Regions from separate parts of the Homo sapiens genome. Here region 1 is linked to region 2. Evidence: promoter capture Hi-C in human tissues and cell types (Jung and others, 2019). All regions are on one chromosome and are shown on one strand. Each heading gives the region's core, a stretch centred on a gene start or on the middle of the fragment in contact. The rest is flanking DNA. Distances are from core to core; before and after follow the strand shown.

Region 1 (3,929 bases), core at 253-2,752, 110 kb before region 2:
ACCCAGCGGCACTAGAGGAATTAAAGACACACACACACAGAAATTTAGAGTGTGGAGTGGGAAATCAGGGGGCTGACAGCCTTCAGAGCTGAGAGCCACAAACAGAGTTTTACCCACATATTTATTGACAGTAAGCCAGTGATAAGCGTTGTTTCTATAGATTATAGACTAACTAAAAGCCTTCCTTACGGGAAACAAAGGGAAGGGCTCTGGCTAGTTATCTGCAGCAGGAACTTGTCCTTAAGGCACAGATGGCCCATGCTATTGTTTGTGGTTCAGGAACGCCTTAAGCAGTTTTCCACCCTGGGTGGGCCAGGTGTTCCTTGCCCTCATTCCGGTAAACCAACAACCTTCAGCATGTGCGTCATAGCCATCACGAGCATGTCACAGTGCTGCAGAGATTTTGTTTATGGCTAGATTTGGGGGCCTGTTCCCAACACCTTGGCCTCCCAAAGTACTGGGATTACAGGTGTGAGCCACCACACCTGGCCTTCTAATGTATGTCTTAGTCATCTTGTGTTGTCCTAGGTGGTTGCACACTTTTTGTGTATTTTACAACATTTTAAAGTAGTTCCTGCCCAGTTTGACTCTGATTGGATTCTGTTGTAGATGAAATAGAAAAGAGAGCCTTGTTTCAGACCTTCGGTTAGTCCCCAGACTGATTCAAAAATACAAAGGCAATAATGTGGAAACAAAATGTGATCTGTACACTCTGTGGTGATCAGAGTTCTACACTGGGAACTCTGCTGTCTTCAGGACTGGCAATGAGATGGGCAGAGATGGGGCCAAAGAAAAAACAATACAAGGCTTTTCTATCATTTTTCACTTTCCTGTTTATGTATCTTTTTCTCTCTGTTAATAGTATGGGATGTGAAAAATTACAGTTTTAAATCTTCTGTTTGTTTTTGTAAAGCTGTCTACTTTCTTGATGAGAAGGTTTTTTTTAAGCATCTTTAGACATTTATGACTTCTATAAAAATTGGTTTATGTAATGTTATTGATTATTAAATGTCTGCTGTTGAGATTTATGGAATATAATTGATATTCATGAAAGCTGACACTGAATTCTGTCTAAGAACATTTGCAGTCTGTCCTCTTCTTTTCTTTCTCCTTCGACATTACCCAGTAGAAAGTTACAATTTTTTCTATTTAGTTGGTAAAATCTCTTTTATTAGTCTTTTGTCATACTTAACTACATTTGATCTACAGGGAACCAGTCACCAGCTTCCAAATATTCTCTCTGTGTAATCACGTAGGATAGGCTAAATCCCCCAAGTAAGACATTGAAAAAACAACAACAACAAAAATATGAAATATCATCTACCAGAGTTGCACATTAGGGACCCTGTGCCTAGAGTGTTTCTTTGTGTATGTCTTAGTCTATAAGACTGTTTTTTTGTTACTTACAACAGGATACCAGAACTGGGGTAATCTATAAGAAATGATATTTATTTTTTGCAGTTCTGAAAGCTGGGAAGATCAAGTAAGGTCAAAGTGGGCATCTGGTGGGAATCTTCTTGCTGATGGGGACTCTGTAGAGTCCCTGGGTGGTACAGGGCATTACATGATGAGGGGGCTGAGTGTCTAGCTGAAGTATCTTCCTCTTCTCATAAGGACACCAGAACCTCATCTGTGATAACCAGTTTATTTATTAAGCCATTCATACATGAGTGGATTAATCCATCCATGTGTTCCAAACCCTCAAGACCCACTCACCTCTTAAACCACTACCTTTGATTACTTCCACATTGGAGATTCAGTTTCAGCCTGCATTTTGGAGGGGAAGACATTCAAACCTAGCAGTGGCTGATTGGGTACACTTCCTCTGCTGAGGATGTAATACAATTCCAAACTCTCAGAGGGAAGTTAGGAGTTAAGCAAATACCATAATTTTTACACAAATAGTTTAGGCACACTCCACCCCCTTTATTAGTTATGCTTACGGGGCCCTCCCCTAAATACATTGTCTAGACACCACGAAAGGTTCAACATTGTGAACAAGCAGTTGTAAGGATATGCCGTCTCAGGACTGCTAATTGTAACTCTCTTTTGCACAGTAGGTGGTAGGACTTTGTCATGACAAGGACTACAGACCCACTGTAGAAACAGACATTAGGAGTAATCCAGGCAATAAGATTCACTTGCATAATTCACCAATAAGAGATATGTTCCTACTCAACTGTTATTTTAGCAAGCCCAATTCCAGCATCAGAATTCCAGCATCAGACAGTGAGTGCAGACACAGAATAAGAGTGGATTTACCACGTCATTGAATAAATGCTTGGAAACCACAGCATCATGGGAAGTTTATGAAGGTGAGTATAGGTTCTCAGTACTGTGAGTTTCAACCTTCCTTTTCTGGACATATGGGATGTTTCAGGACTCAGTGGCCTTTGAGGATGTGGCTGTGAACTTCACCCATGAGGAGTGGGCTTTGCTGGGTCCATCACAGAAGAATCTCTACAGAGATGTGATGCGAGAAACCATTAGGAACCTGAACTGTATAGGTATGGATGACATCATGTCTTCATTTGGTCAATTAGAGACATTTGTTTTGTGGTCATCAATGCTGTTCAGTGATTTGAAATATGGAAAAGGGATACAGTTCATTCCTGAACAACACAGGGTGAAGTGCCAGGCCCCAACCTGTTGTATGTCCTCATATAATCTTTTGTCTGCCACAGCTTAACCTACTTTTGACCAGCAGCCTTATCAGTCATATAAACAAGTGACGAGCACATATATGTCATATGTATTGCATACTGTATTCTCAGAATAAAGTAAGTTAGAGAAAGTAAATTTTTTTTCTTTTTTTTTGAGATGGAGTCTTGCTCTGTCGCCCAGGCTGGAGTGCAGTGGCTCCATCTTGGCTCACTACAAGCTCCGCCTCCCGGGTTCACACCATTCTTGCCTCAGCCTCCTGAGTAGCTGGGACTACAGGCGCCCGCCACCATGCCCAGCTAATTTTTTGTATTTTTAGTAGAGACAGGGTTTCAACATGTTAGCCAGGATGGTCTCGATCTCCTGACCTTGTGATCTGCCCACCTCGGCCTCCCAAAGTGCTGGGATTACAGGCATGAGCCACTATGCCCGGCCTAGAGAAAGTAAATATTAATAAGAAAATCTTAAGGAAGAAAAACTATATTTACTCTGCATTAAGTTGAAATGGATCATCATGAAGGTTTTCATCCTCATCTTCACATTGAGTAGGCTAACTAAGAAGAGGGGTTGATATTGCTGTCTCAGGGGTAGCAGAGACTGAAGAACATTTATATATAAATGGACTTGTGCAGTTCAAACCTGTGTTGTTCAGGAGTCAACTATAGTTCAATGAATGAATCATACATGATTGTAGTGTACATAAAATCTTAACAATTTTTGTATCATTTTGTAATAATTTATAGTGAATTTTCTGGATCTCTCTTTTAGGAATGAAATGGGAAAACCAGAACATTGATGATCAGCACCAAAATCTCAGGAGAAATCCAAGGTAATTTGTACTTATAAGAGACAGGTGATGTCCTTGCAGTGTTTCTGAGAATGACAAGAACTTTTAAAAAGAAGCAAAGATTATGAACAAGCCCAGCTTAAATTTATTTATTCTTAGAAAAATTTCTCTATAAAAATATATTATTAAATGTGACATAAATATATTATTAAATGTGACATAGCTATTCAGTGTTTGCAAAGTAGTTCCCATGGAAACAATATTAAGATTTCCCATATGAGGCTGGGTGTGGTAGCTCATGCCCGCAATCCCAGCACTTTGGGAGGCTGAGACAGGAGGATCACTTGAGCCTGGGAGTTTGAGGCTGCAGTGATCTGTGATGGCACTGGTGCACTCTAACCTAAGTGACAGAGCAAGACCCTGTCTTAAAAAAAAAAAAAAGGCCAGGCGCAGTGGCTTATGCCTGTAATCCCAGCACTTT
Region 2 (3,769 bases), core at 1,169-3,668:
AATTTTTAAAATGTGGAATATAAGACTAATCTCTTTCCCCCTGAAATCTACCTCTTGGGAAATACATTATCTTCTCTATGAAGCTCTACTGATAAAATGCACTTTCAACTAAATGAAATACTCAAGCTGAACTTGTTGTTAAGGCAAGAATCCCAGGGAGAAGCAGTGCTGACCTGGAATACAGACATTCGTCTGACTCCAGTGTCAGCAGAGGTCATCTTATCTATCAGTTGGAACATCCCTCTACCCCCATAGTGCTCACTGAAATGCTCAGTGACCACCCGCCCAAGAGACACTGCATTACGCGACACTGTGTACCCAAAGTGCATTTTGTTTTTCAGGTTATTCCACCACCTCGCTGAGATAGTTTTTCTCCCTTCACAAGGCTGAGAGAATACAAAGGACAGGAATCATTTCCGTCTTTTCCCTTGTCGACCTAAAAAGTAGAGGCTGAAACACAAAATATGACCCAAAGTGTCTGAAAAAGGGGGACAGGATGTGGGCTGATACAAAGTTGTTTGTCAGGAATTCTCACTGATTTACAGAAGTAACATTGATAAGCGCGTGGCTATGCACTGTTAAGCTATAGGGTGTGGGTTCCAGGGTCCCGTGTTGCATTAGTAAGTTGATTATACCTACTTGTGGCAATAGCAGTTTCAAAAGATGAATTCATAGCTTCAGGGAGTTAGAAGGTGATTGCTGTATCACTTGAATGTCTCTATGTGCCCGTTCATTTAAAAGGACCCACATTTATCAGACGAAAATTATTTTTTTGAGGCCGGGTACAGTTACGCCTGTAATCCCAGCACTCTGGGAGGCCAAGGCAGGCGGATCGCGAGGTCAGGAGATCAAGACCATCCTGGCTAACAAGGTGAAACTCCGTCTCTACTAAAAACACAAAAAATTAGCCGGGCGTGGTGGCATGCGCCTGTAGTCCCAGGTACTGGGGAGGCTGAGGCAGGAGAATCGCTTGAATCCGGGAGGCAGAGGTTGCAGTGAGCCGACATCACGCCACTGCACTCCAGCTTGGGCGACAGAGAGACTCCGTCTCAAAAAAAAAAAAAAAAAAAAAAAGTTATCTGGGAGTGGTGGCGCAAAACTGTGGTCCCAACTACAGGGGAGGCTGAGGCAGGAGAATCGCTTGAACCCAGAAGATGGAGGTTGCAGTGAGCCGAGATCACGTCACTGCACTCCAGCCTAGGCGACAGAGCGAGACTCTTTCAAAACACACAAAAAATTTTCTTTTCTCAATCCTCAATACCAGCATCTGATTGGCTGACCACCAGTGTGTCTCCAAAGGATGGAAACTGGGGTTGGGGGAGGAAAAGCTGAGTGCCCCCAGAGGTTGGCTATTTAGAAGCAGGGTATGCTAGATTTATCCTAGTCCCAGGGCATTCTCCCAGCCTTCTATTTCAACTGTCCTCTAGGAAGACTCACCCAAGACCCAATATTCACTAGATCCTCCAAGAGACTTGGCAGCTGTGGGCAGCTTGAGTCAGCCCCAGACAGTTTTGAAACCCAGAACCAGGAAAAAATAAATAGGAGGGGGCGCTGAAGGCATATCACCCTGTAAAGATTCCAAAGGGGAACCTCAACTCAAAGACATTCTGATGAGGTATCTGTGCATAGAGGAGACAAAAGGACAAGCACAAAGGTTTCTTACAGCGGAGTGTCAAGGCTATGAACAGAAAACAAACCTTGATGAAAGAGTAATCCATTGCTTTGTTGAAAAATAAACAATGAAAGCACAATATCTGAAATGTAGAATATAGGAGAAACGGTTGCTAATGTCGTGAATGGAAGGGGAGAGGTTGGCGTTTGGAAAAGCGAAAAGAGAACAGGAAATTTGGGGATTTACTGCAAGCCCTGGAAACAGCAGGCTGGGGGACAGAGTGAGGATTTGGGACCCTGCATCCCATACACTTAGAAAACTCAGGGAAAAACGGGTGTCCTCTGTGGAGAGAAAAGGAACTGGGAACCTCATACACCACAGCTCCTTCCACGCACAAGTCAGGATTTCCCCCACCCCATGACCCTCGCGTGGGCCCCGCACAATCTGAAGAGACTTGGGTCTTCGGGGCCGGGGCCGCAATCGCGGCACAGGGCGGGACGAGGACGCCCGGGGTCCCGGCTGCCGGCCCAGCCCCACCCTGAGGCCGAGGGTACCAAGGGCTGAGCTGCGCCAGAGGGACTCGGTACGCAGACCCAGAGTCGCCCACGGGAAGGCCCGGGCCGCGCCACAGCCAGTTCCGGTCGTCCAACCAGCCCCTCCTCCCTGTCTCGGGACGCAGGGCCCGACACACTCACCATTTCCTGACTCCCGGGTGTCCCAGCTTCCTCCCTCCGGATCCCAAGGCAGGTACAGGAAACCGCGCCACAGAGACTCCAGGCGAGCCACTCTGGGCCTCTGGGACTAGCGAAGCGAAACCAAGTACGGCAGACGCGAGAAATGAAAATCCCGCGAGAAGGTTGAACGTCTGCAGCTGCGTCCCCGACGGCGCGCCTGATTGGACCGATCGCAGAGCTCCTCCCCGGTGCCCCTGATTGGGTACAGCTTCGGGCTCTGCCCCCTGCATCTTGACAGATGTGAATGACAGGAGATGTGAAGCATAGATGAGTGAAGCGGGAATGAGGGGTCTTGGCCCCAGCCCTCAAACGCAGGGTGGACTTCTTCCCCTCGTCCCCTTCACTGTACTTGGTCTGCGGGGGATGGGGAGATGGGAGATACTTGCATTTTAGCAGAACTTAATCCGGGTTTACCAAAGGAGATACTTCCTGTACTCAGTGGGTCATTTCTTCATCTACCTCTTGCATGAGGAGTCACAGGTGTGCGCAGGGAGTTCCAGGCAGGACTGGAACAGAAGAAAGGGCGTGATATTCCCAGGGATCGGAAATTTGGGATGAGGATATGGGAAGCGTGCCCAAGGCTTTCTCATACCATACCTCTTTATCTCTCTCTATTTTTTACTTTATTTACTTATTTATTACTTTATTTACTTATTTATTACTTTATTTATTTATTTGAGACAGGGTCTAGCTCTGCCACCCAGGTTAGAGTGCAATGGCATGATCATAGCTCACTGCAGCCTCCATCTCCTGGGTTCAAGCGAACCTTCCGCTTCAGTCCCCTGAGTAGTAGAGACTACAGGTACATGCCACCAAGCCCGGCAAATTCTTTAATTTTTTGTAGAGACGGGATTTCGTTTGTTGTCCAGGCTGGTCTTGAACTCCTAGCCTCAAGTGAACCTCCCACTTTCGCCTCCCAAATCAATCTACTCATTTTCACCCAAGAAAATAAAAAACTGCCAACAAGTGAATAAAATTATTAAATACATGGAAAAACAAGTTCTATTTCCGTAATCTGTAAAGAAATCAAAAGGGAAGTAAAGCGAAAATTTGAACTAGCTCAGATAAGCAGGGCACTTCAGAACATTTAAAAAGGAAAAGATGAATTCAGAAGGTAGAACATATTCCCAAGCTTAAGAGTCAGTGACTGCTGAAGTGGAGCCACAGAGTACATTAGACCCTGATGATGAGGCAGGAAACCTAAGGATTTAACTCTGGGAGCTCAACATGCCCTCCTGTCACAGCATCACAATGTGGGAACGCTCCCTCCTTCAATACCTTAATAATTTACACCAGCAGAAAACTCTCACCTGTGGTCAATTTAGGCCCCTTGAAATTCCAACCTCTCTAGCTCATAAACCATTTCTCTGGAACGCTACCTAAATGAGTCTCTAAATATGATCTTTACATATTTTCTTCATAT

What was found. Contacts are between HindIII fragments. The study calls those that stand out against the background at their distance.
Region 1: a fragment that was not itself captured here is called in contact with the fragment with the promoter of ZNF136 in region 2 in 4 of the 25 tissues and cell types used here (aorta, dorsolateral prefrontal cortex, lymphoblastoid cells and 1 more).

Annotation. Positions count from the first base shown.
Region 1 is chr19:12,274,534-12,278,462 of GRCh38, reverse strand. ZNF44 (zinc finger protein 44) reads left to right here. Exons shown (of 4, transcript NM_016264.4): 2 at 2,381-2,507; 3 at 3,430-3,490. Among named protein-coding and RNA genes, the nearest start is that of ZNF44, 18 kb to the left of the region's middle. The HindIII fragment of the contact is 9,813 bases long and covers 1-3,929 here.
Region 2 is chr19:12,161,745-12,165,513 of GRCh38, reverse strand. It overlaps ZNF136 (zinc finger protein 136), which reads right to left and starts at 2,418. Exons shown (of 4, transcript NM_003437.5): 1 at 2,308-2,418. The coding sequence starts at 2,310. RefSeq lists enhancers at 2,318-2,477, 2,488-2,577. The HindIII fragment of the contact is 18,447 bases long and covers 1-3,769 here.